Linked DNA regions of Homo sapiens: regions 2, 3 and 4 are each linked to region 1. Evidence: promoter capture Hi-C in 16 types of primary human blood cells and fetal thymus (Javierre and others, 2016). All regions are on one chromosome and are shown on one strand. Each heading gives the region's core, a stretch centred on a gene start or on the middle of the fragment in contact. The rest is flanking DNA. Distances are from core to core; before and after follow the strand shown. Region 1 holds the start of SLC23A1 (solute carrier family 23 member 1). Region 2 holds the start of REEP2 (receptor accessory protein 2). Region 3 holds the start of EGR1 (early growth response 1). Region 4 overlaps ETF1 (eukaryotic translation termination factor 1).

Region 1 (7,425 bases), core at 1,707-4,206:
GGCCAATCACCACCTCCACCACGCTGGACACCATGATTGCACCCTGGACCTGGAAGGGCAAACATCAGCCGTAAGTCACCATGTAAAGGTCATGACCTGGCTGCTGCTAGCAGGAACAAAGCTCCTGGACCACCTCCTCAAATCCCCAAACTCAGCGGCCACCCTCACTCCCATATAGCCCCTCCTCAGGACCCGGCCTCTTCTATGCTTACATGCAAACCCACCTCCCGTATCCGTGGGTGCCAAATATGAGAGGTGTTCAGGGGCAGACTCCAGTTACCGTAGATCTCCTCTGGGGGTAGAGTCAGGGATACACACACGGACCAGGTACAGAGACAGAGAGGGAGAGAAGATGCTGCCATGGCTGCACCCTGGTGTTGACCCGGGACAGTTGCTCAGACCTCCAGGTCTCTGGGCCTCCCCTTTTCCCCAGTGCAGACCCCAGAAGTGTACCCACCTTCCGGGGGGCATTTCCATCTCTCCAGAGCCAGTATGGCTTTGGCTGGAACCAGAAATGCAAAGGCACTGGCCTGGAACAGCGGCAGCCTGGAGGAGAGGCACAAAGCAACAGGGGTGGGGAGGGGCGGGTGGGGAGGAGGGATAAAGATGCGGGGAGAGATCAGGAAGGGAGAGCACAGAGAGAGTGACAGAGACACAAGGGACAAGGGCAGATGGAAATCGTTGAGGCCCCAGGGAAGACCATCTCTAACATTTTGGCTGCCCAAGGAAGAAAACAAATGGAGCCCCCAGCTCAAAACCTGCCCCCTTCCCACCACCAGCTCCTGCACTGTGAGGAGGGGGCACCTGCCCGGAAGTGGACACCTCAGTTCCCGCATCCAGGTTTCTCTCACAATCTTCCCCTGTCCCCCGCTGCTCAAACAGCTCAAATGCCACCCAGGCCTAGGGCTGTGCACTCGGGAGCGTGGGGCCCTGGGAGGGTGGGCTGTCGAAGAGGCTGGCACCAACCCTGGGAGCTAGCTCAGGGCTGCCATCTGGGCAATATTCAGAATGGGGTTTAAGAGGGGAGAGCCGGCTAGGCTTGGTGGCTCACGCCTGTAATCCCAGCACTTTGGGAGGCCAAGGTGGGCAGATACAAATACAAAATTAGCCGGGCATGGTGGCGCATGCCTGTAATCCCAGCTACTCAGGAGGCTAAGGTGGGAGAATCGCTTGAACGCGGGAGAATCGCTTGAACCCGGGAGGTGGTGGTTGTGGTGAGCCGAGATCACGCCACCGCAATCCAGCCTAGGCAACAAGAGCAAAACTCCGTCTCCAAAAAAAAAAAAAAAAAAAAAAAAAGAGGGGAGAGCCAGCGAGGGTACAATCCCTTAAACTTGCAGATGCCTGGTCTTTGAAGTGTGCCTAGATCAAGATTCCCAGGGTTGGGGCCACGCTGCCCAGCTCTAAGGCTGGCCTGGGATAGGAGAAGCAGGTGGAGGCAGAAAGCGGCTTTTTTGTCTCACCAGTGTCCTCTGGGAGCCCACCTGCTCCTGCTGTGTGGATCACAGTGGAGGGGTGGCGGGGGACGGGTTGGGGGGCTGGGCGGCTCACCGGATGCCCACGGTGGTCTGGATGAGAGTGGTGATGCCCACGCACGTGAAGATGGTGCCGATGAGCTGACTAACCATGTGCTGGTCGTGGCCCACACACAGCGCCTCAGCCAGCAGGAAGGGCACGGCGATGGTACCACTGAAGCATGTCAGGTAGTGCTGGGCAGAGGGAGACAGCAGAGTGCATGAGGCAGGACCCCAGAGCTCCAGGGAGAGGGGACAACCTAGTGTCCTCATGCCTGCCTCAGCGGGCCTGGAACCGGCTGCCTGCCCAGGACTGGCAGTCCCCACAAGGGATTCCCAGAGAGCTACTGCTGACCACTCTGGGGGTCACTAATTTCCACTCAAGATATTCCTGCGGCTTCCGTGGAGTCGGCTCTGCTCCCTGTCACCAACACCCCACCTGGCAAGCGTCACACTCCCCCAGGGAGTTCATCTTCTTTCAGGATTCAGCCTCTTCCCGACTCCTGCTTGCTGACAGCCACTGTGCTGACCTCAGGTTTTTCTTCCTGTTACCCAAGATACTCCCTGCTGGCCAGGGAGGGGCTGGAGTCCCCGGGGAGTGTGCAGAGTGAGGGCGGGGAGGCCCTGGGGGACCCACCTGGAAGCCCAGCAGGATGCACAGGTACCAAGGTGGCACGTCCTCGATCTTGTACAACATGTCAAACTTAGGCTCTGTGGGTAGCGGGGTCGAGGGGTCCCTGGTGGTTTCATGCTGGAGGCAGCAGAGATAAGTAGCTTAGGGTGAAGTGATGGGGACAGGCAAAATCCATTCTGCCCCAGAATCAATCAGGCAGCCCAAGTGGCTTGTCAGCAACTGAGAGCGGGGTTCCCGCCCTCCCCAACAGTCCATCCACCCGGGTGCCACTTGGCCTGGCCACAGTTTTCTCCCACTTTGCATTGCTTCCCGCAGGGATGAGTCTACTGTGCCAGCTTCTAGAGCCCTCAGGACCTGCCATTTTAGCCAGGGAAGTGGACCCTTAAGTCAGAAGTCTTGGAGACCACAGGAGAGGGGGCCAAGAGGGCTCAAGACTGTGGACAAGTCCAATCCGGTCCCACCTCTGCCCCCTGGAGATCCTTGGGGTGTCACTGGCCGGGAGATTAGGCCTCTCCTGAACCCCAACCTGGAGTCAGCCAGTCCCAAAGCTGCAGGCTCCTTCACCCCCACCTCCACCCATCCCCCAGTTGCCACATTCAATTTGGGACAGTCACTCTTATCAAGTTCATCAGAACGTTTATCTCTGGCCTCCAGGAAGAAGGCCTGCACAGGCCCTCCAGCCCCCCACCCCCCCTGCCCCCCCTAGCCCCCACCCCCAGCCCCCAGCACCTGTGTCCGGCCCTCGAGGTCCTCCTGGGCCCTCATCTTTGGGGCACAGGTTTGAGCAGTTCCTGAGGAGAAGAGGGGATGACTTGACAAAGGCCAAGGAGGAGGACTTTACTCCACATATCAGGCATTGTTTGAAGTAAATCTGTAACCAGATGCCCAGCTCTGGATTGCGAAAGGGGGGCCCGGGCAGAGGTAATGTATTAACTCTCACTAGGACAGTAAAAGCCACCCAAGCCTCTGCCACATGTGCCCTTCCCTGCCCACATCTGCGCCTGGGCGCTGGACCTGTTCTTGTTTCCCAAGAGAGGGCCAGAGTCGAGGGGGTGAGGACCAGAAGTTTACCAAGCCCCAGGTGAGCGGAGAAAGAGGGAGTGGAAACAGGCACTTATTATGTAACCCCCTGTATGAGGCCCTTCCCCACTGATTAATAACTAGTTCATCATTATCATCATCATCATAGTCATTCTCGTTATTGAGGAATGGCCTTGGCCTTGTGCCAAGAAACATGGATCTGCACTGTCCCAAGTAACCCCTGTGCTGGGCGGTATTAACCCCTTTAACAGCGAAGGAAACAGATTCAGTAGATGTGATTTGACCCAAGCCATGCAGATAGCAAGTTTGCAGAAACCAATCCTAAAATTCAGGTTGGTCTGAGCTGCCTTGCCCTCACCACCCTGCACCCCTCAGGGTCCCTGAGGCAGGCAGCAGATGGGCCTCTGCAGGCAGAGCTGCCTAGGCTGGCCCAGCCGGGTCTGCACTCTGTGTCAGGGCACAGATCCCTTTCCCCTCCCAGCCACATAATTTCTGGGACCCAGTGCAAAGTAAGAATGTGAGGCCTTTATTCCAAAAGTATAAAGAATTTAAAGATAGCAGGAGCATTAGATGGAGCGTGGGGCCTTTCTATGCACCAAGCCCTGTGTGACTGCCCATCACCTAGCCCAGGAAGGCAGTCCTATGCCCAGCCTGTCTCCCCTCCTGGCAGGCCCAGCCCAGCCTGGCCCTAGGGCCTGAGATGGCAGAGGGGGACATGGGGAGGGGCCCTAAGAACTCAGGCTCCTCAGCTGGTGAGGGCTGGGCCTGAGGTCCCCATTCTGTTCCCCTCTGGGCTGCCCCAGCCCCAGCACTCTAGAGCCCACCTACTTCTGGGTCGCTGTGCCCATGGCCAGGCCCTGCCTGAAGGGCCAAGGGGCAGCACCGCTCTCCAGCTGGGCAGCAGCTTCATGCCACAGCACTGAGTCCGCCCGCCTGCCGGTGTCCACACTGTTCCTCTGTCCGCCTGTCCTCTCCTCTCCCTCTTGGCTACTGCTCCCAATTTCCAAAGTTGCTGGACCAGTTTGAAGCCTCTGCAACTCCCCAGCACTTTTCTCTCCAACTTCTCCTCCCAGAACTCCCCAGGGTGCTGTGGAGACCAAGCCCGACCCCCTGCAGATACGGCTCCATGGACACTCAATTCAACCCAAACCACACAACACGCATAGAGAACAAGGTGGAGAACACGGTCCCAGATCCACAGTAGCATGAAGGGGCCCACACACCCAGAGCTGATGCAGCCTCTCTAATCACCCCACAGAAACACAGGTCCACGTCATGGGTGCCCGGCTCCACACCCTGTCCTGAAAGCTTAGTGGGTTTCTTGGGCCCTGACTTTCCTCCTGGTGTCTAGGGTTTCTCTCCTGAGTGAAGGCCACGGATGGTGGGGCTTCAGGCAGGTCCTGGAACAGGTGAAGGATGGAGGGGGCTGAGTGCAGCTCCCAGGGAAGCTGGAGTGGCCAGGGCCTGCCCCAGGCACCTCCATTCCCCCAGCAGCCCGCCTCTCCGGTCCCCTAAGTCTGAATCCCCTCCCAGCCCTACTACTACTCAGCCAGGGACTTGGCCCAAACCCCTTCTGTTGTCTAAGTTTCGGTTTCTGCATCTGTCAAAGGGGGATTAGATTGTCTTCCTGCACATGGCTCTCGTGCAAAATAAAAATATTTCTAAAAATGAGGGTTAGAATGTTCTGTCTCTCTCCCAGGGCTTGGCCAGATCAGAGACACTCACAAACGAAACTGAAAGTTCTGGTGCCACCGATCTCCAGTTCCCAGACCTAGGTGGGGTCCAGGGCTTCTTTACTAAGGAAAAGCCCCAGCCAGAAGAATTTCCAGAGAAAGCAGGACTGAGAACCAAAATGTTGAATCTGGCTGGTCAGAAACCCAGGGCCCATCCATACCAGCTGGGGTCAAAGGCAGAGTGTGGAAAATGAACAGCCATTGGGTGTAGACCCAGTGAGACGTGTGTTCTCGGAGGGGTGCAGATAGCATGGAGTGGCTGGAATAGGTGTGCCACAAGGTGGCCTGCGTGCACAGTTTTCCTTGGTTCTCTTTTCTCATGAAGGCTCTGAAGACCTGGGATGTCACTGAAACCACCTTTGCAAAATTATGACTGAGACAGTGAAAGAGATCTAACTTAATCAGTTCCATCTTGCTTCTAACCTCCAAGTTGTCTTTCTTCATTCCTGAGTGTAGGCTGAACTAACCTTGGGAGAAACTTAGTTTTTAGTTTATAGTCTAAAACAAAGACAATAACAGCCCTTTCTCAAAGCAGACCTCCTTCTTGCCTGAGGACTAGATTGCCTTTGTAGGATGGAGCAACATTAGCCACAAGATGAGAAATTTTGGTTTAGGAGTCATGCAGCTAGAGGTTACAAGATTCTGACCCTCTCTAAACTGCTCCTAAGATCAGTGCTTGAGATACTTTGCAGACCCTGCACTTGATAGATCAGCTGGCATCACCCAGATCCATAAATTGGCTCGTTGGGACTTGTGGCCTCCACCTAGGAACTGACTCAAGGCAAGGAGACAGCTTCAACTCCCTATGATTTCAGTCCTGACCAATCAGCACTCCTGGCTCACTGGCTTCCCCGCCATCCACCAAGTTGTCCTTAAAAACTCTGCTCCCTGAATGCTTGGGGAGACTGATTTGAGTAATAGTAAAACGCTGGTCTCCTGCACAGCCAGCTCTGCGTTAATTAGTCTTTATTGCAATTCCCCTGTCTTGAGCAATCGGCTCTGTCTAGGCTTGAGCAAGGTGAACCCTTTGGGCGATTACATCACCACACCATTGATGGCTCCCTCTTACCTCTGGAAGTTGTAGGGATGCAAATTTGGCCTTCTGTAGGAGGGATGTAATATTGTGAAATATATATTTGGTCTTTGACCTCTGTTTCCTGGAGTACAATTTCTAAAATCTTAGAATCCCCAAAATGATGTCTTCTTGTGTGCTAATGATTGACTGATGGCTGGCAGCCCCTAGGGTAGCTTCAGGACAGGGGCTGGTCACCAGAGAGACCAAGGCAGGATTTCAGCCTCCCCTCACCCCCCATCCCCAGTCAAGGGAGGGCAGACAGGTTGGAGGGTAAGTTGTTCGCCAATGGCCAATGGCTTAATGAATCATACCTACGTAATGAATTATCCACAGAAACTCAAAATTGCAGGGTTCAGAGATCTTCTGGATAGCTGAACACGTGGAGGTTCCTGGACGGTGTTGCATCCATGGAGGGCATGGAAGCTCCGAGCCCATTCCCCATACCTTGCCCTACACATCTCTGCATCTGTATCCTTTGTAACATCCTTTATAATAAACTGGTAAACGTTTCTCTGAGCTCTGCGAACCACTCTAGCAAATTAGTTGAACTCAAAAGAGGGGGTTGTGGGAACCTCATCTTGAAGCCAGTAGGCCAGAAGCTCCAGAGGCCTGGAGTTGGAACTGGTGTCTGAATGGGGGACAGAATGGTGGACTGAGCCCTCAGCCTGTGGGATCTGACACTATCTCCAGGTAGATAGTGCCAGAATTGAATTTTGGAGGGCACCCAGCTGGTGTCAGCTGCAGAATTGCTTGCCTGGTGTGTGGGGGAAAGCCCCCACGCATTCGGTCACAGCCATCTTCTGTGCTGTTGTCGAGTGAGAGAATAGAAAAAGCATTTTGAAGGCCGGGCGCGGTGGCTCATGCCTGTAATCTCAGCACTTTGGGAAGCCAAGGCGAGCGGATCACCTGAGGTCAGGAGTTCAAGACCAGCCTGGCCAACATGGTGAAATCCCGTCTCTACTAAAAATACAAAAATTAGCCGGGCATGATGGTGGGTGCCTGTAATCCCAGCTACTCAGGAGGCTGAGGTGGGAGAATCGCCTGAACCTGGGAGGTGGAGGTTGCATCGAGCCAAGAACACTGCACTCCAGCCTGGGTGACAGAGTGAGACTGTCTCAAAAAAAAAAAATTGATTTTGAGAGTTTTTTTTTTTTTTTCACAAGGGACATCAGCAGAAACACCAATGTCTGCACTCCCAGCCCCACAAGCACCTTTTGCAGAGAAAAGAAGTGAGGTCACTGGGTTTTATTTGAGTCCAGAGGGGAAGGCGTTGACTCCCACCCAGGCCCGAGTGCCCTGAGGCTGGAGGAGGGAGGCAGGATGGCAGCACAGAGCAAGGGCTTCCTGCCCTCCTGGCTGCCTGCAGACGGGAGTGGAGACCGTCAGAGCAAGCCCCAGCTTCTTTCAGAGGAGGGTAGAGTCCAGGAC
Region 2 (7,425 bases), core at 4,442-6,941, 940 kb before region 1:
GCCTCCCAAAGTGCTGGGATTACGGATGTGAGCCACTGCGGCTGTTTTTTTTTTTTTTTTTGAGACAGTCTCACTCTGTCACCCAAATGAAAGTGCAATGGTGTGATCTTGGCTCAACTGCATCCTTCGTCTCCTGGGTTTAAGTGATTCTCCTGCCTCAGCCTCCCATGTAGCTGGGATTGCAGGCATGCACCACCATACCCAGATAATTTTTGTATTTTTTGGTAGAGACGTGGTTTCACCATTTTGGCAAGGCTGGTCTCGAACTCCCGACCTCAGGTGATCTGCCCGCCTCCACCTCCCAAAGCGCTGGAATTACAGGAGTGAGCCACTGCACCCAGCCAACCATAGTTTTTATACAAAGTATAATCAACGTTGGTGTTTGTTTATTGAGATGGAGTCCCGCTCCGTTGCCCACGCTGGAGGGCAGTGGCGTGATCTTGCCTCACTGCAGCCTCTGCCTCCTGGGTTCAAGCGATTCTCCTGCCTCAGCCTCCCGAGTATCTGGGGATTACAGGCACGTGTCATCACACCGAGCTAATTTTTGTATTTTTAGTAGAGACAGGGTTTCACCATGTTGGCCAGGCTGGTCTTGAACTCCCGACCTCAGGTGATCCACCTGCCTCGGCTTCCCAAAATGCTGAGATTACAGGCGTGAGTCACCGTGCCCGTCCAACATTGGTGTTTACATAGAATGAGAATATAAAGGTAACATGTCACCTTATCCATAACACCTTTCCCGAGCTAGGGATGTTGGGTGTGTTTCTGCAGTCCCAGCCACTCAGGAGGCTGAGGTGGGAGGATTACTTGAGCCCAGGAGTTTTGAAGCTCTCGTGACCTATGATCACCCCACTACACTCCAGCCTGGGCAACAGACTCTGTCTCTTTATTTAAAAACAACAGGCTGGGCGCGGTGGCTCACGCCTGTAATCCCAACACTTTGGGAGGCCGAGGTGGGCAGATCACAAGGTCAGGAGTTCGAGACCAGCCTGGCCAATATGGCGAAACCCCGTCTCTACTAAAAATACAAAAATTAGCCAGGCATGGTGGTGGGCGCCTGTAGTCCCAGCTACTTGGGAGGCTGAGGCTGGAGAATCGCTTGAACCCAGGAGGCGGAGGTTGCAGTGAGCTGAGATGGCGCCACTGCACTCCAGCGTGGGCAACAGTGTTAGACTCCATCTCAAAAAAAAAAAAAAAAGACCTTTCCTGACTACCCTGTTTAGAATAACAACTCCTGCTCCAGCACTACCAGTCCCACTTTCACTACTTTATTTTTCCTGTAGTATTTTCACCATCTGAGATATAGCTATAGATACAGATATAGATATATTTTTTTAATCTGTTACTTAACCCTACTAGAATGTAAGCTATTTAAGCTCTGTGAAGGCAGGAATTTTACATTTTACTCACTGCTTTTCCTTAGCACAATGTCTGACACATAGTAGGTATTCATAAATCTTTGTTGAAGCAATGCAAAAAAATTAATGGAGAATAGTAAAAGAAGGACTTGGATGCCCATGACCCAGCTTAAGAAATTATAGCACACATACATATACAGCAACTACATGGTTGAAGCCCCCATGTACCCTTCCCCTTTGCATTTCCCCGCTTTTCCTCCCCAGAAATAACCTCAGTTTTCTTGTCAGCCCTTTAAAAGAAAGCTGTCTTTATTCTCTTCACCTTAATATGCCTGTTCACTTTTTTCAATAACTTTTATTGTGTGTTCCAATTTCACAGGTAATATATCCAAATCAGAAAACATATAAGCACGAAGGGAAAAAATAGGCCATAATCCTGCTTTCCCCTCTTGTTTTAATGCATCCTTATTAGCTGTAGAACCTTAAGGAAGCCTCTTAACCATATAAGGAAACAAAGTTCTCCAGGTGTTCACTGTGGCCTTAGTTTCCGCAGTTTCTCCTCTGTAAATTGGGCATGATAATAATAGAACCTACCTCATAGGATTCTGTCAAGGATTAAGCAAAGGTCCACATAAAGAGCTCAGCAGCAGCGCCTGCCCAGGACATAGTAAGCACATAAATGATGGTGATCAGATGGCCTTTCACATAACTTCATTATTCTTTTTTGAGTACACACCTCATGCCCTATGTGATTTGTAAATGACTGTGGGGATTGATACAGGAACGCACAGTCCTTTTTGGGAGTTTCCCCACTAAACCAGTAGGCTTACAGTCAAGGTAGAACGTACATTTGCATGGGGCTGCTGTGAACTGACTTTGCTGTACACCTTCTCTAGGTGAAGAACATCATTTACCATGCAGTGAAAGATGCGGTTGGCACCCTCAAGGCTCATGAATCCAAACTGGCAAGGTCCTAGGCATGGAGAAACTCCAAGCTCCTCTGTGAAGCAGGTCTTTCACTCACAACACTTAACAGGGAACGGCAGGGCTCTTTGCTGGAGCAGAGGCCCTTCACCCAGAGCCAGTGTGGTCAGTATTCCAAACTCTCCAGCCACTCTCTTCTACGCTGCCTCAACACTGAAGGTTGACACAGGAAAGTCGTACTGTTCACACACACAGTTTGAGACTCCAAGCCAAGAGTGCCACATCCCTATCCTGTGGCCTTTTGGAAATCCAAATTGCCTGAACATGGCGGGGCTTTCCTGCACATTCTCCTGATTTGAGATTCACGGGCACACCTTTCTTTTCTTTTCCTCTTGTGCCTAGTTAAGTGGAAATGTGTTTGGAGATAGGGGAAATCACATAACTGGTACAAGTATGGGGTAATTGCTTAAACATGCCTGGTGGAAGTCTGATAGCGTCTCTGCACGTGACCTCTGACAAAGCCCATCCCAGGAGACGGGGTGAAGCTATTCCCCACACTCTCCTGTGAACACTGGAGTCTTGCAAGACCCAGGGAGAACCCACTGCTTTTCCCAGGAGGCTCCAGGATTAGGAAATGTGTGTATTTAGTGAAAAATAGGTTTGTAGTGAAATAGTTACTATTTCATGAAAGTAGATATTTTTAGAATTTTTGAAATACCACAGTTGTTTTCCTGGATTATAAGGAAAGGCACATTACATTTAGTCTTCCTTTCGATATAAAACTCTTTGAAGAAATATGATTTTTAGAAATCAGCTACCCATTATAGCACAAAATCAGCCAAAGCAGAATTTTTAAAAATTGGCTTTTTTAGGATTCTTTTTCTCCCCCTCCCATCTTAGTCTTACCTTGAGGGAACAGTCATATGAGAAGGAACTTTGTCACATCTAAGCTGTGGTGTGTTCCCCATGTGTGTGTACAACACTGGTGACTCCAGGAACCATTTTCACCTATTACCAGTGTTCCCTGGGGACTCCTCTTAATGTTTCCAAATGGGAAGGACAGTTGATTTCCAACATGAGGTTTTTTGTTTTTTATCCAGAAATATTTTCAGCAAAACTTTCCAACTGAGTGGAGTCTGATTAAGGATTTATTTGAAAATGGTGGGATTCATTGGCCCATAGGTACATTGGAAAATGTATATCTCTCCAGCTGTACTGTAGTGCCCTGCAGGCTGTTTATATGTTCACAGTTACTTTTTTTTTTTTTTTTAAATAAAAGTCATTTAATGTAGAATACTTTTAATTTCACTTTCTGTATTTTAATTTTGTTGAAGGGCTGATTGGGATTTCCATGTTCTTATTAAAAATCTAACAAATCTGTTTGGAGTGGACTAAATTATTCGTGTACCAACCCTTCTAAAATCAACATCAGATTGGGAGTTGGGTTGGAGGTGGGGGATTCATTTCCAGGTCTTCATGACTGTGCTACACCCAGATATTTTTCTTTGCTTGTTGAGACTGTGCCATGTTAGAAAAAAGGAAAGTGCCAGGGTGAGGTCAGTATGGTTTGGGGAATTGGGGGTAAGGGGAAGGGGCCACATGAATTAGAGGGTAGAAAGAGAGACATGTTTCCCCATACTTTATGCTTTGTGAATGGAGTGGGAAAGTTGGGGTCCTCCCTTCCTGTGGCAGAGTCTGGGGGGAAGGGTCATGGTGTGTGGCCTCAGCAAAGTTGGACAGTCTGTGGTGGGATTCTTAAGCAGGCAGCCTGGCTGCCTACATGAAACGTGTGGCCATAGATCCACCTTAGAGATGGTGGGAGACACTCATGTGGGATTTATCAAGCAGTAATTAAAGTGTTTCATTGTGGGGTGATAACAGACTGCATTCCAATTAGGAGATGTTTTCTGGAGAGGAAGTTGTAAAGAATAGCAAGAGGGGTTATCAGAGGCTGCTTTTCTGGAACGTTTTGGGAAACATCTTCCAAAGTGTTTGAACCTGGAAATATAATTTACCAGGTTAGAAATAGACCATTGTGTTGTTCAGGGATACTGAGCTTGAATAAGACCATGACTCTTTGAAATACACAGTTCTGAATGTGTCCTTTCAGCCCAGATGGGCACAGGTTGATGCTGTGGTCACCCGAAGGATTACAACTCAACATAAAGGGTAGAGGAATGCAGAAGCTCTAAAATGGGACAGGAAAGGAGAGCAATAGGGCTGGGGGTGTTGGTGGATGGTTGGAGGTTGGTTGCTTTCCTGAAGATCAGGAGGCAGGCTAGCCTACATTCTGGATATAAATGTCTTTAGAATCAGGACATTCACTGCCACTAGTGCTTGCTGATGGGGGTGGAACTGGAGCCCCAGGACCCTCTCGCAGCCCCTCTGTTTGAAAAGAAGGTTGACCCTTTGTTGTCAGTAACCACATTGAGAGCATAAAGCTCTGTTCCGCTGCAAAGCTTAGGAGCTGACAACCTAAAAAAGCAGACCAGCAGCCCGGTGGCTCACACCAGTGATCCCAGCACTTTGGGAGGCTGAGGCGGGTGGATCGCTTGAGCTCAGGAGTTGGAGATCAGCCTGGGCAATATTGCAAAACCCCATCTTGGCAAAAAAAAACAAAAAACAAAAAAACAGGAATTAGCTGGTGGTGTTTTGGGCCTGTAGTCCCAGCTACTCGGGAGGCTGAGGCGGGAGGATCATTCAAGCCCAGGAGGTGTGCTGAGATTGTGCCACTGCACTCCAGCCTGAGCGACAGAGTGAGGACCTGTCTCAAAAAAACAAAACATCATCTGGTCAGGGGAGATCCTCTTTCAACGGGGTGAGAAGGAGTGGGGTGGACAGGTGCGGCTGTACCTGTGACTCAGGAGCTCAGGTGGATGTCTTCAGGGCCTGTAATGAGGAGAGTTTGCTAGTCAGCAGTTGGGGGATGTAACCTGTTTAAAGTAGGCTTCCTGGGGTCATCTTAGCAGCATGACTTGGTGGCTTTGTGACTCTCAACAGATTATTGAGCCTTAAGCTTCTCATTCCCTTATCTTCAAAATGAGGGCTTTTATAGCGCCTGCCTTATAGGGTGGTCAAGAGGATTCACTGGCAACGCAGTGAAGCTCTTAGCACAGGGGCTGGCACACAGTAAGCGCCTGGTGTGGGCAGGGCAGGAGGTGGGCAGGGGTCGATTTCAGGATGTAACCATGGAGACCTCCACGACAACAGCCTAGGGCTTGAAACCCAAGAAAGATGAACAAGCGATTCGAGGAAGGCAGGGCACTGAGGGTCGGAGGCGCATGCCCGGCCACAGCAGGTGCCGGGGCGGGGGCGCGCCGCCGCCGCCGCGGCGGCCTCCCGGCCTCCCCTTTAAGAGCCGCCACCGCCCACGGCCCGCCGCTGCGGCAGGGACCTCCCCTTTAACGGCGGCGCTGGGCGCTCCGCTGCCCCCGCGGCGGCTGCTGCAGCGGCTGCTGCTGCTACTGCGGCTCCTGCTGCCGCCGCCGCCGCCGCTCGGCCTCAGGCAGCTGCATCCTCGGCCGGGCCGGGTCCCCGCCCCGCGCCGCGCCCGGCCCCGCCATGGTGTCCTGGATCATCTCTCGCCTGGTGGTGTGAGTGCGGCGGCGGCGGGGGGTGATGCGGGCTGTGATGGAGGGCGGGGGTGTTAAAGCCCGGGTGGACTTCTCCGAAGCTTCGTGCAGCAGAGTCACCTAAAGGCGCTGCGTCCTTATTTGGGGCCCCCAGAGACATGGAGATGTGGCACCCAGGACTGGAGGGGGGAATATTAGGGGAGCGTGGCAGGCCTGGCTTCCCAGGGACCTCACCCACATTCTTTATTAATAACCTCTTTTATTTCTACCGTCCTTGCTCCTGCGCCCATCCTAGAGGCTGAGCAGCACGGCTTGATTTAAAAGGGGAGGCAGGCGCGTCCCCTCCCCCACCTAGCAGGTCTGGGCTGGAGGAGATCCTCAGACCCGGGCCCTGTCCCTCTGGGGGAGGTAACAGGGTGATGGAAGAGAGTGGAGCAAGGCAGGGCCTCATCATCATTCCGCAGCTCAGAGCCATCACCAGGCCCCTTGGTCTCTCCCTTCCACTCACTGTCAGGAGACTGGGGACGAGGGCATATGCCCTTAGGCCCCCTAGGGAGGAAGTCTGGGTATCGGGAAGCAGAAATGCTCGGAGGACAAAGTGTGAGAGGTAACTGGGAGAGGGGATGTGTGTGCTCAGCCTGGGATTGTGGACCCCGCTGGGGGAGGACGCTCCGTGGCCTTCATTCCAGGCTGCCAGCCACACTGTGGAGCTGTGTCTCTGGCACCTCCCCGGGCCCCAGGAGGGAACACACACCATTCCCCACGAGCCCAGACTTTGTCCTTGAGGATTCTGCTCCGCACTCCACTTGCACCAGCCGGTTTGGAAGTATCCCTCCTGTCCATGTGGAAACAGGCGACAGCCACACATTGTCAAGGGGCTGAGCCTGACAGGGGCTCCTCGTGGTTCTCGGAGCTATCCCCTGCCCTAATGAGGACACTGCCCCTCGGCCTCCACCGTTGGGGACTGACACCGGCAGCCCCACCCTGCTCCCTTCTTCCCATTCGGTACAGCCGGGCCGGCCAAGTGCTTCTGTCCTGGTTTACTCTAGACTCCTTCTCTTCCCCCACCCATCCCAGGGGGAATGGAGGGGCCTCACGCCTCCATGTGGCCTTCAGGGTGGCTGCTTCTCTCTTGCCTGGGCAAGCCCCAAAGGGCATCGGTCCTCTTCTTTCCCGGCCTGTGTCTTGTCTGCATTCTGTACTTGGATCACCAGCGGGGCCCTCCCCTGAGCCCTGTCCCTGTGGTGTTTACATGGGGGAATAAGCCTCTTTGCCTCTCTCAGGGCCTCCTGCCCCTGTGCCCTCTGTTCCCTAGGGCCCCAGGGCCACAGTGGTACCTCTGCCTGCCAGGTAGGGTGCCCTGTTAGGTGGTGTCAGGTTCCCTCGCAGAGCCTGGCTCTGAGGGAGGTGGAGGGTAAGGGCAGATGGGTGTGAATGGGCATGAGGTCAAGAAGGAAGACACCCTGTGGCAGTGACCTGACTCCCAGTCTCCATGACATATTTGTGTGTAACCAAGGATCATGGCGCAAGGGACTACATTGGACCCTCTGGCCTCTGGGCCTTTCCCTGCC
Region 3 (7,425 bases), core at 2,860-5,359, 920 kb before region 1:
ATGTCTCTTCTCTCTGACTTCCCCTGCATTGGCTTCATTCTCAGGCAGGCTCTCCAGGCCTGTGGGCGAAACGGCCTCCAGGCTTACATCCTATTGGCTTAGTACCATCAGGGAAAGGGAATTTCCCTTTCCCAAGAGTTCTGGAAAAAGTGATTCTCATTGGCCTGGTTTGGGTCATGTGCCCATCCTGACTCAATCACTACAGCTAGGGAAATGAACCACTCCTAGGCTAGGCCACCCCTGGGTGGATGGCCAGGCCCAGGGAACATACCTACTTATAGATGTAGAGTAGGGGCTATCTGCCCCCAACCACATGGATTAAGGTGGCTCCCCAAAGGAAACTGCTGGCTGGGGAATAGTAATAAAAAGAAAGGGGAATTGATGTTGGTCATGCAAAACAAAAGATGTAGACGTAGACTATGAGAATTTCCCATGCTGAGCTTCAGCAAGAACCTGACAAATACGTTAGGTGAGCTGCACAGGAGAATCATCGGGGAACTGGTTTGCCCTGGCTGGGGCAGAGGATGTTCTCTCCCAGTCTGGGTGGCTCTCCAGTGACAGCACAAGAATCCCAGGCCGATACCTTGGCTCAGTGCTGCCACTCGCAAGCTCGGGAAGATTGTGATGCAGCTGGTCCAGGGTAAAAGCTGTCTTTTTCAGACTTCCACAGGCGATTCTGCTGCACAGTCAAGGTTGAAAAATGCTGCTCTAGTAAACGCTCTACTGCAGCAAGATGGGTTCAGATCAACTCTTAGGGATTACGTCCCCTGTGATAGGATTGGTATGTTTTTCCCCATCTGCACAGCTTTCCAGAAAAGGGTCACTGGAGTTTTCTTGGAGGCTGAGGATGGGTGGGTGAACTGTGGATGACTCTATGGATCCAAAGCCTCTGAAAAGAACAATAGCCACTGTTTGTTGAATGCCAATTGCAAGGCAGGTACTGTGTGTTGGGACTTGACATATGGCAGCCCGCATAAGTTTCAGTCCTCACAACAATACTCCCATGTGGGTATTATTACTATTATTTATTTATTTGAGACAGAGTCTCACTCTGTCGCCCAGGCTTGAGTGCAGTGTTGTGATCTCGGCTCACTGCAAGCTCCACCTCCCGGGTTCACGCCACTCTCCTGCCTCAGCCTCCGGAGTAGCTGGGACTACAGGTGGCCACCACCACGCCCGGCTAATTTTTTTGTATTTTTAGTAGAGATGGGGTTTCACCGTGTTAGCCAGGATGGTCTCGATCTCCTGATCTCATGATCCGCCTGCCTCGGCCTCCCAAAGTGCTGGGATTACAGGCATGAGCCACTGTGCCCGGCCCCATGTGGGTATTATTAACATTAGCCCCATTTTACAGTTGAAGAAAGTGAGACACAAAAAGCATGGCTGGCTGGGCACGGTGGCTCACGCCTGTAATACCAGCACTTTGGGAGGCCAAGGTAGGTGGATCACCTGAGATCAGGAGTTCAAGATCAGGCTGGCCAACATGGTGAAACCTGGTCTCTACTAAAAATACAAAAATTAGCCATGTGTGGTGGGGTGCACCTGTGGTCCCAGCTACTAGGGAGGCTGAGGCAGGAAAATAGCTTGAACCCAGGAGGCGGAGGTCGCAGTGAGCCAAAATTGCCCCATTGCACTCCAGCCTGGGTGACACAGGGAGACTCTGTCTTAAAAAAAGCAAAAACAAACAAGTAAACAAAAAGCTTGGCTGGCTGGGTGCTGTGGCTCACACCTGGAATGCCAGCACTTTGGGAGGCCGAAGTGGGTGAATCGCTTGAGCTCAAGAGTTCAAGACCAGCCTGGGCAACACAGCGAAACCCCTCTCTACGAAAATACAAAAAAAAAAAAAAAAAAAAAAAGTAAAAGCCAGGCGTGGTGGCAGGCACCTGTAGTCCAAGCTACTCGAGAGGAGGAGGCTGGAGGATCACTTGAGCCTGGGAGGCGGAGGTTGCAGTGAGCTCGCGCCACTGCACTCCAACCTGGGTGCCAGCGTGAGACCCCGTCTCAGAAAGAATAAAAACATTAAAAAAAAAATTTGGCTAAGGTACCCTACCAGGGAGTGGCAAAATGGACATTCAGACACAAGGCCATCTGCGCTGCAACAGCCTGGCCTTCCTGCCCTTGCGGCAGGAGTCCTCTGAGAGGCGCATCACTCCTGCCCCAATGGACAACTCGGTAGACAGTGGGAGTGAGCCCCCCACCTCCCCAGCGGACTTGAGACGGCAGGCTCCGAGACGAGGGAGTCCTGGTTCATTAAGTTGGTTTTTATAAGAAAACATGTTTGGAGGGGGGACAGCCACAGAGGGATTAAGTCCAAGAAAGTTACACCCTCCCCCACCTAATCCCCCTGACCCCGACCTCCAGAGGCTGTTGGGGTTCACAGAGGCCCTCACCTCCTCCCTTCCCTCTCGGTGTCGTCAAGCACCCTCCTTCCCCACATTCTCTTTCTGCTTTCTTTTTAAATCCAGAAAAAACAGCACCTCCTCTGGATTCAGAGCTAGAGCAGGAGGAGCCTTCCCTTCCCGGAATCCCTGTTCCCTTTGGGGTGAGCAACTGACTGCGTCGTGGGGGCGGGGAGGGCTTCCCTGTTCGCGTTCGGCCCCAGGGAGACCTGCGGGAATCGTTCTCCCTCGCCACCACCCACCCCCTGCTTCCTTCTCCCCCTCGCCTTGGCCAGGCTCGGGGTGAGGAGTGTTATCCCGGAGTCTGGGCGCCTCGGCAGTGACGGCTCCCCAGGGACTGCAGGGGGAGCCCGGGCTGCAGCGCCTGCTCAGTTCGTGCTCACTGCGTCGAAGGCTCCCCCGGCCTGGCTCCGCGCCCAGCGCCGCATCCGGGAGGAGGAGCGAGGAGGCGGCGGAAGAGCCCGCGCGGCCGGAGTCCGGGGCTGGGAGTGGAGAGGGAACCTCCAGGGGGCAGCACCGAGCCGCCAAGCCGGTCCTCTCTTCGCGCCCAGCCCGGGGTCCCCAGACAGCCCATAGGGAAGCCCCTCTTTCGGATTCCCGCAGTGTGGGCCGGCCCTCCACCTGGACTGGATAAAGGGGGGAAAGTGACCCCTCACCACAAGGACCATTATCTCCTGGTGAGAACAAGAATCAGGCCTCTCTTGGGGCAATCAGCTTCCCCACTTCGGTCCCCCAAAGGTGGGCTCTTTGCCGGCGGGGACTAGGGAACAGCCTTTCGGTTCCGGGGGAGCACAGGGGACCCCAGGCACCAGCAGCCCCATCCCACCGACAGGTGGCAGAGGCAAGGCAGCTCACTGCTATACAGTGTCCCAAGAACCAAGTGGCCGTGACTTCCTATCCTCAATTTCCCAGCGACACCCGGAAAGACACCGTGCCATAGATCGAGGCCCGGGGTCAAGGCCCCGCCTCTCCTGGGCGGCCCCTGCCCAGGCGGGCCCAGCCGCTCCTCCCCCGCACTCCCGGTTCGCTCTCACGGTCCCTGAGGTGGGCGGGCGGGCCCTGGATGACAGCGATAGAACCCCGGCCCGACTCGCCCTCGCCCCCGCTCTGGGTCTGGGCTTCCCCAGCCTAGTTCACGCCTAGGAGCCGCCTGAGCAGCCGCGCGCCCAGCGCCACACGCCACGAGCCCTCCCCGCCTGGGCGTCCCCGGATCCCGCGAGCGCTCGGGCTCCCGGCTTGGAACCAGGGAGGAGGGAGGGAGCGAGGGAGCAACCAGCTGCGACCCGGAAATGCCATATAAGGAGCAGGAAGGATCCCCCGCCGGAACAACCCTTATTTGGGCAGCACCTTATTTGGAGTGGCCCGATATGGCCCGGCCGCTTCCGGCTCTGGGAGGAGGGAAGAAGGCGGAGGGAGGGGCAACGCGGGAACTCCGGAGCTGCGCGGGTCCCGGAGGCCCCGGCGGCGGCTAGAGCTCTAGGCTTCCCCGAAGCCTGGGCGCCTGGGATGCGGGCGCGGGCGCGGGCCCTAGGGTGCAGGATGGAGGTGCCGGGCGCTGTCGGATGGGGGGCTTCACGTCACTCCGGGTCCTCCCGGCCGGTCCTGCCATATTAGGGCTTCCTGCTTCCCATATATGGCCATGTACGTCACGACGGAGGCGGACCCGTGCCGTTCCAGACCCTTCAAATAGAGGCGGATCCGGGGAGTCGCGAGAGATCCCAGCGCGCAGAACTTGGGGAGCCGCCGCCGCCATCCGCCGCCGCAGCCAGCTTCCGCCGCCGCAGGACCGGCCCCTGCCCCAGCCTCCGCAGCCGCGGCGCGTCCACGCCCGCCCGCGCCCAGGGCGAGTCGGGGTCGCCGCCTGCACGCTTCTCAGTGTTCCCCGCGCCCCGCATGTAACCCGGCCAGGCCCCCGCAACTGTGTCCCCTGCAGCTCCAGCCCCGGGCTGCACCCCCCCGCCCCGACACCAGCTCTCCAGCCTGCTCGTCCAGGATGGCCGCGGCCAAGGCCGAGATGCAGCTGATGTCCCCGCTGCAGATCTCTGACCCGTTCGGATCCTTTCCTCACTCGCCCACCATGGACAACTACCCTAAGCTGGAGGAGATGATGCTGCTGAGCAACGGGGCTCCCCAGTTCCTCGGCGCCGCCGGGGCCCCAGAGGGCAGCGGCAGCAACAGCAGCAGCAGCAGCAGCGGGGGCGGTGGAGGCGGCGGGGGCGGCAGCAACAGCAGCAGCAGCAGCAGCACCTTCAACCCTCAGGCGGACACGGGCGAGCAGCCCTACGAGCACCTGACCGCAGGTAAGCAGTGGCCTACGCCGAGGGGGAACCCTTTCGCCACCATCCTGGCGTCCTGTCCTTCACCGCAGGAGTGCTCCTGGATCTTAGAATGAGAGCCGGGTTTCCCTTTCATTCCTCGCATCCCCAGAGTCATGTGTTAGAGGGATGCCAAGGAACCCCACACAGCCCACCCCCTGCCCTCATCCCTAGCGGAGCGCAGAGGACCGAGCTTTTGTTTTGGATGGAGAGCTCTGGAGCTGCGTGGGTGGGTGGAGGGGGAGGGCTTGTTTTGATGAGCGGGGCTGCGCCCCCCACCTCCAGTAAGACTTGCCTTGCCTTGCTTGCCGCCTGTCCCCAAGGAAGGACCGTGATCCTTGGCCGTGGATGTCCCGGCAGCCCGGGTTTGGGGGCGCGCACTAGCCGCGGCCATGGGGGTGCTGGCGGGAATCCCTCGCCCGCACAGCCGCCGCTGCGGAGCGCTGCGAGCTGCAGTGGAGGGGGATTCTCCGTATTTGCGTCAGCTGTTGTTGAAATGGGCTCTGCCACTGGTGCGGGTCCAGGAACATTGCAATGTGCTGCTATCAATTATTAACTACCTCGGGAGTCAATGGTAGCCGGCCCGGTCTCTTGCCTGGCAGCTCGGGTCGTCCTCGTCCTCCAGTGATTGCTTTCCAGTAACCAGGCCTCCCGCTTCTCTCTCTCCTGCCAGAGTCTTTTCCTGACATCTCTCTGAACAACGAGAAGGTGCTGGTGGAGACCAGTTACCCCAGCCAAACCACTCGACTGCCCCCCATCACCTATACTGGCCGCTTTTCCCTGGAGCCTGCACCCAACAGTGGCAACACCTTGTGGCCCGAGCCCCTCTTCAGCTTGGTCAGTGGCCTAGTGAGCATGACCAACCCACCGGCCTCCTCGTCCTCAGCACCATCTCCAGCGGCCTCCTCCGCCTCCGCCTCCCAGAGCCCACCCCTGAGCTGCGCAGTGCCATCCAACGACAGCAGTCCCATTTACTCAGCGGCACCCACCTTCCCCACGCCGAACACTGACATTTTCCCTGAGCCACAAAGCCAGGCCTTCCCGGGCTCGGCAGGGACAGCGCTCCAGTACCCGCCTCCTGCCTACCCTGCCGCCAAGGGTGGCTTCCAGGTTCCCATGATCCCCGACTACCTGTTTCCACAGCAGCAGGGGGATCTGGGCCTGGGCACCCCAGACCAGAAGCCCTTCCAGGGCCTGGAGAGCCGCACCCAGCAGCCTTCGCTAACCCCTCTGTCTACTATTAAGGCCTTTGCCACTCAGTCGGGCTCCCAGGACCTGAAGGCCCTCAATACCAGCTACCAGTCCCAGCTCATCAAACCCAGCCGCATGCGCAAGTACCCCAACCGGCCCAGCAAGACGCCCCCCCACGAACGCCCTTACGCTTGCCCAGTGGAGTCCTGTGATCGCCGCTTCTCCCGCTCCGACGAGCTCACCCGCCACATCCGCATCCACACAGGCCAGAAGCCCTTCCAGTGCCGCATCTGCATGCGCAACTTCAGCCGCAGCGACCACCTCACCACCCACATCCGCACCCACACAGGCGAAAAGCCCTTCGCCTGCGACATCTGTGGAAGAAAGTTTGCCAGGAGCGATGAACGCAAGAGGCATACCAAGATCCACTTGCGGCAGAAGGACAAGAAAGCAGACAAAAGTGTTGTGGCCTCTTCGGCCACCTCCTCTCTCTCTTCCTACCCGTCCCCGGTTGCTACCTCTTACCCGTCCCCGGTTACTACCTCTTATCCATCCCCGGCCACCACCTCATACCCATCCCCTGTGCCCACCTCCTTCTCCTCTCCCGGCTCCTCGACCTACCCATCCCCTGTGCACAGTGGCTTCCCCTCCCCGTCGGTGGCCACCACGTACTCCTCTGTTCCCCCTGCTTTCCCGGCCCAGGTCAGCAGCTTCCCTTCCTCAGCTGTCACCAACTCCTTCAGCGCCTCCACAGGGCTTTCGGACATGACAGCAACCTTTTCTCCCAGGACAATTGAAATTTGCTAAAGGGAAAGGGGAAAGAAAGGGAAAAGGGAGAAAAAGAAACACAAGAGACTTAAAGGACAGGAGGAGGAGATGGCCATAGGAGAGGAGGGTTCCTCTTAGGTCAGATGGAGGTTCTCAGAGCCAAGTCCTCCCTCTCTACTGGAGTGGAAGGTCTATTGGCCAACAATCCTTTCTGCCCACTTCCCCTTCCCCAATTACTATTCCCTTTGACTTCAGCTGCCTGAAACAGCCATGTCCAAGTTCTTCACCTCTATCCAAAGAACTTGATTTGCATGGATTTTGGATAAATCATTTCAGTATCATCTCCATCATATGCCTGACCCCTTGCTCCCTTCAATGCTAGAAAATCGAGTTGGCAAAATGGGGTTTGGGCCCCTCAGAGCCCTGCCCTGCACCCTTGTACAGTGTCTGTGCCATGGATTTCGTTTTTCTTGGGGTACTCTTGATGTGAAGATAATTTGCATATTCTATTGTATTATTTGGAGTTAGGTCCTCACTTGGGGGAAAAAAAAAAAAGAAAAGCCAAGCAAACCAATGGTGATCCTCTATTTTGTGATGATGCTGTGACAATAAGTTTGAACCTTTTTTTTTGAAACAGCAGTCCCAGTATTCTCAGAGCATGTGTCAGAGTGTTGTTCCGTTAACCTTTTTGTAAATACTGCTTGACCGTACTCTCACATGTGGCAAAATATGGTTTGGTTTTTCTTTTTTTT
Region 4 (7,425 bases), core at 2,038-4,537, 870 kb before region 1:
GAAAATAATCACATACCTCTTTGTCTGTGAAATGAGATTTATCCTTTTCTTGCTCTGGAGTTAGATAGAGAATTTTCTCCTCTGTAGTATTAGGAGGAAAAAATGTGTTAACCTGGCTCTCATATACTAATCTGTGTAAGCTCCATAAGATGAGGTTAGATGAGAAAAGGGCTCAGGGACTCAATCTCTCAACATTTTTTCCATAAACATGTTAGCATACACTGAGTGTCTACTAGGTACAATGCTTCAACCATAAGGAACATCAGAGATGTTCAAGATATAGTCCTGGTCCTCAGCAGATGTAACAATCTTAAGCAGACGTTAAACAGTTCAAGCAGAAAAATCTATGCAGGAATGTGCTACAGACTGAAGGACTGGGGAACAATGGGTAGATCTACCTTCTGATTGCTCCTGAAATCAGCCATCCCTCCCAAATCTCCACCCCAGGCTTCCTGGCTCAGTAACAAATAGCAACCTTATTTTCTAATTCTCATACCTTCTGTGCCTTGGCAATGAAGAACATATCTCATTATATCCAGATTTTCATAGACTATTAGAATTTCTACAGCTCCCATTTCCAAAGCCTTTAGTGTATCTTCAACGCCAAAACAGTACTTGCCCGTGTCCTGGCTGATTTCATCAAAGTATCGTCCTACGATTAGGGATCAGTCAACAGGATATATATTAAAGTTTCCCTAGTAGATACAAACACACCTATTCGACCTAATGACTAAAGAAGATAAAAAATAATGCTTTTACTGAGGCAAAAGAGTTAATAAAAATACTAAATATTCCTTTTTACATTTTTGGTACCTTGTCTCATACATACAATCACGTACATACACACACACACATACACACACACACACACACACACACACACACGAAAACATTTCACAGAATAAGTAGTTGCATTTCACCGATACCTATTAATTTCTTCTCTTGAATGAATTTCACGTTGGAGAGGACTTCAGTAGATAACTCAATAGCTTGGTTGAATCCATTTTCACCACCATAGGATATATCAACTAATTTTAAAACTTTTGATTGTAACCTCTAACACACAAAAAAAATATTATTAGTACTTACTGGTACTTATTTAAAATATTATTAAAACACCTTTACTCAAACCCACTAACTCTTAATGGTATGCAAAGCTCAGCATTATGATCACTGAAGTCTAAATATGGGGAAGGAGCCCAATTTAATCAAAAGCTGCTCTTAAAGTGAACAGCACTGCCAATTATATCACACATTTTATTAGACCTACTATAGGACAACTCATTAAGTGCAAACAAAAATAAGTTATTGTGGAGGAAAGGGGGGACCACTGGCTCCTGCCAAATAAGGTAGTAGAGGTTAAGACGGGCTGGGGAGGGTGGCTCACACCTATAATCCCAGCACTTTGGGAAGCTAGGAGAGGCAGACAGCTTGAGTCCAGGAATTCTGAGACCAGCCTAGGCAACATGGTGAAACCCTGTCTCTACCAAAAAGTACAAAAATTAGTTGGGCATGGTGACACATCCCTGTAGTCCCAGCTACTTGGGAGGCTGAGCTGGGAGGATCACTTAAGCCTGGGAGATCGAGGCTGCAGTGAGCCATGATTGCCACTGCACTCCAGCCTAGGCAAGATAGCCAGACCCAGTCTCAAAAAAAAAAAAAAAAAAAAAAAAAAAAATATATATATATATATATATATATATATATATATTTTTTTTTTTTTTTAAAGGCAATTTCTTTGGTGGACCTTCTACCATAAGGCTACTTCCTCCAGATCTTGAAAGTGTATTATGGCTGAGCCCATGTTATAAAATGTGCTTTAAATGCTTTAGGCTGAATCAGCTGTCATACTGCTGAGAGCTTTGCTGCTATGTATCTCCAAGAATAAATCAGAAAAAGAAAATAAGGAACAGGTTTTAGTTTCTTTGAAATCAAACTCCATTCTACAGCCAATTCTGACAACCCAACTAAACAAGGAACCTCCACAGGATCCATAAGAAGCCCACCTAAAAATGGTTGATTTCAGAAGAGAAGGGGTTCAGAAAAGCACAGGGGAATGTTTCCTGATAAACATCTGTAAACCTGCTGTTTAACTCAGAGGCAAGTTTTTAACCCAAGGAATTTTAAAAAGATGTGTCTGTTCCAGTGCTCACACAGAGGACTCACCTACTCCTACCTAGGGTCTTACATAATAAAGCATCTACTTCTTACTTACCTGATCAAACATATCAGATTGACTTAGTTCAGTTTTAAAGTCAGCGGATCCAGCTAAAACTAGACCAGCCACATTCACTTTGTCCCCAGAAATAAACAGCTGCACAGCAGTCTCTGCTACTTTCCGAACATAGTTATGTCGCTTTTCCATTCTTAAACGGGCAAAACGCAAGGCTGACTGACCTCCTCTACCTTTGACACAAAAGTAGCAAGAGAAAAAGGCAATTATTAAGAACTACAAGATGTCTTCAAATTAAAAATAAAATAATCATGTCATCATCTAAGAAAAGGACAAAGAAAAATCACCATTCCCTTAACTAAACGTTCAGCATAAACTGCTACTTGTTTTCAGAGAGCGACTACTAAGTCTATGTCAAGAGAGGAGCTGTAAGTACCAATGAGGCACCAGTCATTACAGGAGGCTTCTCTCCCCATCATCTGGATTCACTCCCCTCACATCATACTGTTTTCTCTCTCTCTCTTTTTTGAGACAGAGTCTCACTCTGTCGCCCAGACTGGAGTGCAGTGGCGCAATCTTGGCTCAATGCAACCTCCGTCTCCCGGGTTCAAGCAATTCTCCTGCCTCAGCCTCACAAGTAGCTGGGATTACAGGCGCCCGTCACATTTTTGTATTTTTAGTAGAGACAGGGCCGGGCTGGTCTCGAACTTCTGACTTCGTGATCCACCCGGCTCGGCCTCCCAAAGTGCTGGGATTACAGGCGTGAGCCACCGCACCCGGCCCACCATACTGTTTTCTTATTGCTAGACACAAAGTAAGTGGGTTCATGTTCTCCTCCTGTATTACCGTGTTTCTTTGGGAGATCCACAGTGAATTTGTGCAGGACTTCTCTTGTGTTTCCTTGGAGTGTGCCAAAAAGTGCACCACTACCATCTATTACAATGAATCCAAACTTGCTATCATCTGAAAGTAGTGCTGTAAGAGCCTGAAAAGCAAACACAAGTACCACACGGTGAATCCCAAAGCTTTGCTAAGGTCAAAAAAACTCTGAAAGGATATATACAAGCCCTTTCACTCCACTCACCATGCTATTAGCACTGTGGGAAAACCTTCTACGGAATAATTTATAGACTTCAGTTATAAACATGTAACTCTTATGGACAAATTTGAACCCAATAAGGAAATAACGAATGATATCTATGTGAAGCTTTTCAACACATTTGACATGGGCATGTAAATATAAAACCAGAAAGATATCTGTATGCCCATGTTTATAGCAATATTACATACAGCAGTTAATACTACTCAATCTCAAAAAGGAAGAAAATTTTGAAACACACTACAACAGGGATGAAACTTGAATACATGCTAAGTGAAATAACCCTGTCAAAAAAGGACAAATACTGTATGACTCCACTTATATGAGGTTCCTGGAGTAATCAAAATCAGAGACAAAAAGTCAAATGGTGGTTGCCAGGGGCTGGAAAAAAGGGGGAACAAGGAATTATTGCTCAATGGATACAGTTTCAGTTTTATAATATAGAGTTCTAAGCTGGGTATGATGGCTCACACATGTAATCCCAGCACTATGGGAGGCTGTGGCAGGCAGATGGCTTGAGCTCAGGAGTTTGAGACTGGCCTGGGCAACATAGCGAAACACTGTCTCTACAAAAAAATACAAAAATTAGGTGGCTGTGGTGACACGTGCCTGTAGTCCCTACCAGCTACTTGGAAAGGCTTTAGTCTGGGAGGTGTAGGTTGCAGTGAGCCAAGATTGTGCCAGTGTACTCCAGCCTGGGTGATCCAGAGACCTTGTCTCAAAAAACAAAAAAACTTTAACTTGTTCCTTTTTTTTTTTTTTTTGAGACAGGGTCTCACTTTGCTGGCCAGGCTGGAGTGCAGTAGCCATCATAGCTCACTGCAGCCTCGAAGTCTTGGACTCAAATGATCCTTCTGCCTTAGCCTCCCAAAGTGCCGGGGTTACAGGCATGAGCCAGCATGTCTTTAAAGGTATTGCAGCTAATGATTCTGAGTTTTATGAGGAAAACCTTCCTTCTATGTTAACTTTATATCCCTTTATGCCTTCCCAAAGAGAAAATATTGAAACAGTCCTGGGACATACATAGATAAGAGTTCTCACAGTGGAATCGGAATACTACACACTTAGTTGATCTCTAATTGCCAGGGGACAATCTCTTTGGAAGTAAGAAATTGTTACCCATTCCATTTTATTTTTATAAACTGATCCTCCTCTTTGGCCTCCCAAAGTGCTGGGATTACATAGGTGTGAGCCACAACACCTGGCCTTACCATTCCATTTTAAGAAAATAGCCCCTTCAATAATTGACTAGAAAGCAGATGGATCAACTAAGAATCCATCTTTAACAAACCATGCTAGATAGTTGGCATTAAGACATGAATATTGTGGCCGGGCGTGGTGGCTCATGCCTGCAATGGCACTTTGAGAGGCCAAGGTGGGTGGATCACTCGAGGTCAGGAGTTTCAGACCAGCCTAGCCAACATGGTGAAATCTCATCTACTAAAAATACAAAAATTAGTTGGGCGTGGTGGTGCACACTTGTAATCCCAGCTACTCAGGAGGCTGAGGCAGGACAATCACTTGAATTCGGGAGGTGGAAGTTGCAAGGAGCCGAGATCGTGCCATTGCACTCCAGCCTGGGCAACAGAGCAAAACTCAATCTCAGAAAAAAGAAAAAGAAAAAGAAAAAAGACATGAATATGAATATTGCACGTTAATAATATAGCCTTATCAAAATGACCCGTTAGGTAGATTGAAGTTTTTAATAAATCTGCTTATCAGGGAATAGGCATATCCCTTATTAGAATATATAATTACCCTGATAAACAGGATATAACCCTCTCAGTTAAAGCTAAAATGTACAAAGTTAGCAAGATTAAACAGTATCTTAGAAAAGGAGTTAAGGTTTGGAAAAAAGCCAACAAGGCTAACTCAGTAAGTGAGCAAAAGCCAGACAACATGGGTACCTGGCACTGTTTAAATCAACAAGATTCAAAATCGGCTTTCATCCAACCAGATACAGGTAAGTGGTTTCAGTGGCTGAGAGGCTCCCTGAAAAACCCTCTGCTGTAAGTAGAGTGTGGTAGTGAAGAGAAAAACAGTCTGGATTGTCTATGCAGTCGACCAAGATCCAACTATAAATGGACTTCCCATCAAGTTAGCAAAAATCATCCACTGTAAACTGTCGACAAATGTCAGTTCTAATTCCACTGTAGAGGTTTTTCCCTAGGTTGATGAAAGGCAAGAGAATGAACTAAGGAGCCAGCTGTGAATTCTTGATTGTTCTACTGTTGACTGATTTAGGTCACTCTAATGAGGTTTCCTTTCCACTGTTCAAGTTCATCCTATGGCAGCTTTGTCACTCAAAAGTTTCAGGGGAAAGGGGGGAAAATGAGTTCTTACAGTTCTGCTACTAAAAATTTTACAATTGTTATGTGAAAACTGAGTGCAATAACTCAAAGAGTATAACTGGACTGCTTGTAACACAATGGATATACGCTTGAGGAAATGGGTACCCTATTTTCCATAGTGTGATAGCTCACATTGCATGCCTGTATCAAAACATCTCATGTACCCCATATACACCTACTATGTACCCACAAAAATCAAAACACACACACACACACACACTTTGGGAGGCTGAAGCGAGCAGATCACTTGAGGCCAGGAGTTTGGGACAGGCCTGGCCAACATGGCAAAACTCTGTCTCTACTAAAAAAACACAAAAAATTAGCCAGGCATGGTGGTGCACACCTGTAATCCCAGTTATTCAGGAGGCTTGAGGCACAAGAATCGCTTGAACCATGGAGATGGAGGTTGCAGTGGGCCAAGATTGCACCACTGCACTCTAGCCTGGGCGACAGTGTGAGACTCTGTCTCAAAACATGCTGAATGACTAGTGTCATAATAAATGTAAATTGCCTTACTTTTTGAAAACAGACAGCTTTGTAAAATGGTACAACGGTTTGGAAAACAGTCTAGCAACTTCTTAAAAAGTTAAACATAATTACTATATAACCTACACGATTCCACAAATCTAAGAAACATGAAAATGTATGGTCACATAGAAACTTGTCCATGAATGTTCACAGCAGCATTATTCAGAACAGCCAAACAGTGCAAACCACTCAAATGTAAAACTGATGAAACGAGAAGCTATATAAAATATGAAATATGGCATATAGGTATACAATGGAATACTACTTGGTAATCAAAAGGGATGAAATGTACTGATGAATGCTACCACATGGAACCTTAAAAGTATAAAGTAAAAGAAGCCAGTCACAAAAGGCCACAAACTATATGATTCCATTATATAAAATGTCCAGGCTGGGCGGGGTTGCTCATGCCTGTAATCCTAGTACTTTGGGAGGCTAAGGTGGGTGGATCACGAGGTCAGGAGTCTGAGACCAGCCTGACCAATGTGTTTAAACACCATCTCTACTAAAAATACAAAAAAATTAGCTGGGTGTGGTGGCATGTGCCTGCAATCCCAGCTACTCAGGAGGCTGAGACAGGAGAATCCCTTGAATCTGGGAGGCGGAGCTTGCAGTGAGCCGAGATCATACCACTGCACTCCAGCCTGGGAGACAGAGCGAGACTCCGTCTAAAAAAAAAATAAAAAAATAAAAATAAAAAAATAAAAATAAAAGAAGTACAGCACAAGCATATCTATGGAAAGAAAATATAGTGGTTGCCTAGAATGAGACAGGTAAGTGGGAGGGATGGGGGACTGACTGCTAATGGGTACGGGGAAAGAATTCTGGAGCGATGAAAATGTTCTGGGTTTGACTTCTTACCTCTGTATGGAATTTGTTGTCACACAAATACAATGACGTATTAATTGGTTTGAAAGGTTCAAAGTCAATGTTGACTTTCTTTTCCTTTCCTTCTTCTGTTACAATTGTTCCACAGTATACAACCAGACCATTTGGAGGTACTGCAAAGAACACAAACAATTTTTCTACTTTACCCCATATCTAGTTTTTCGTCAATTAATAGAAAATGTTCCCATAGCCTATTTTCCCTGCCTGATCCTTTAAGTCATAATTTAAATAAAGCAGAAAAAGCTTGAAATCTCTCAGGCAGAACTCTCTCCCTAATTTTAAAACTTCTTCTGAGACGTTTCAGTACGATTTATTCTTTAAAGTAAACAGGCTGGACGTGGTGGTGGCTCACGCCTGTAATCCCAGCACTCTGGGAGGCCGAGGTA

Evidence for each region. The method cuts DNA at HindIII sites, captures the fragments that hold promoters and counts their contacts. A CHiCAGO score of 5 or more calls a contact.
Region 2: a contact is called between the fragment with the promoter of REEP2 here and the fragment with the promoter of SLC23A1 in region 1, in 4 of 17 cell types (monocytes, fetal thymus, activated CD4 T cells and 1 more). The highest score is 6.6, in monocytes.
Region 3: the fragment with the promoter of EGR1 here is called in contact with the fragment with the promoter of SLC23A1 in region 1 in 4 of 17 cell types (fetal thymus, activated CD4 T cells, monocytes and 1 more); the score reaches 7.6 in fetal thymus.
Region 4: a fragment that was not itself captured here is called in contact with the fragment with the promoter of SLC23A1 in region 1 in 1 of 17 cell types (naive CD8 T cells); the score reaches 5.7 in naive CD8 T cells.

Annotation. Positions count from the first base shown.
Region 1 is chr5:139,380,341-139,387,765 of GRCh38, forward strand. SLC23A1 (solute carrier family 23 member 1) reads right to left here and starts at 2,957. Exons shown (of 15, transcript NM_005847.5): 1 at 2,878-2,957; 2 at 2,152-2,265; 3 at 1,552-1,709; 4 at 458-546; 5 at 225-292; 6 at 1-49. The coding sequence starts at 2,913. It overlaps MZB1 (marginal zone B and B1 cell specific protein), which reads right to left. Exons shown (of 4, transcript NM_016459.4): 4 at 7,127-7,425. The coding sequence ends at 7,425. RefSeq lists enhancers at 502-1,442, 1,918-1,967, 3,568-3,637, 3,658-3,827, 4,208-4,377 and 1 more and a silencer at 2,258-2,317. The HindIII fragment of the contact is 5,308 bases long and covers 1-4,495 here.
Region 2 is chr5:138,433,366-138,440,790 of GRCh38, forward strand. REEP2 (receptor accessory protein 2) reads left to right here and starts at 5,692. Exons shown (of 8, transcript NM_001271803.2): 1 at 5,692-5,875. The coding sequence starts at 5,844. KDM3B (lysine demethylase 3B) reads left to right here. Exons shown (of 24, transcript NM_016604.4): 24 at 2,255-3,662. The coding sequence ends at 2,335. RefSeq lists a silencer at 5,520-5,939 and an enhancer at 6,325-6,858. The HindIII fragment of the contact is 657 bases long and covers 5,297-5,953 here.
Region 3 is chr5:138,461,370-138,468,794 of GRCh38, forward strand. It overlaps EGR1 (early growth response 1), which reads left to right and starts at 4,110. Exons shown (of 2, transcript NM_001964.3): 1 at 4,110-4,699; 2 at 5,388-7,425. The coding sequence starts at 4,393. The coding sequence ends at 6,712. RefSeq lists silencers at 2,714-2,983, 3,304-3,703, 3,714-4,063, 4,154-4,363 and enhancers at 2,896-4,095, 3,168-4,008, 4,009-4,848. The HindIII fragment of the contact is 6,642 bases long and covers 1,699-7,425 here.
Region 4 is chr5:138,510,549-138,517,973 of GRCh38, forward strand. It overlaps ETF1 (eukaryotic translation termination factor 1), which reads right to left. Exons shown (of 11, transcript NM_004730.4): 4 at 7,013-7,152; 5 at 3,020-3,158; 6 at 2,216-2,406; 7 at 927-1,056; 8 at 497-652; 9 at 17-81. Among named protein-coding and RNA genes, the nearest start is that of ETF1, 29 kb to the right of the region's middle. The HindIII fragment of the contact is 182 bases long and covers 3,197-3,378 here.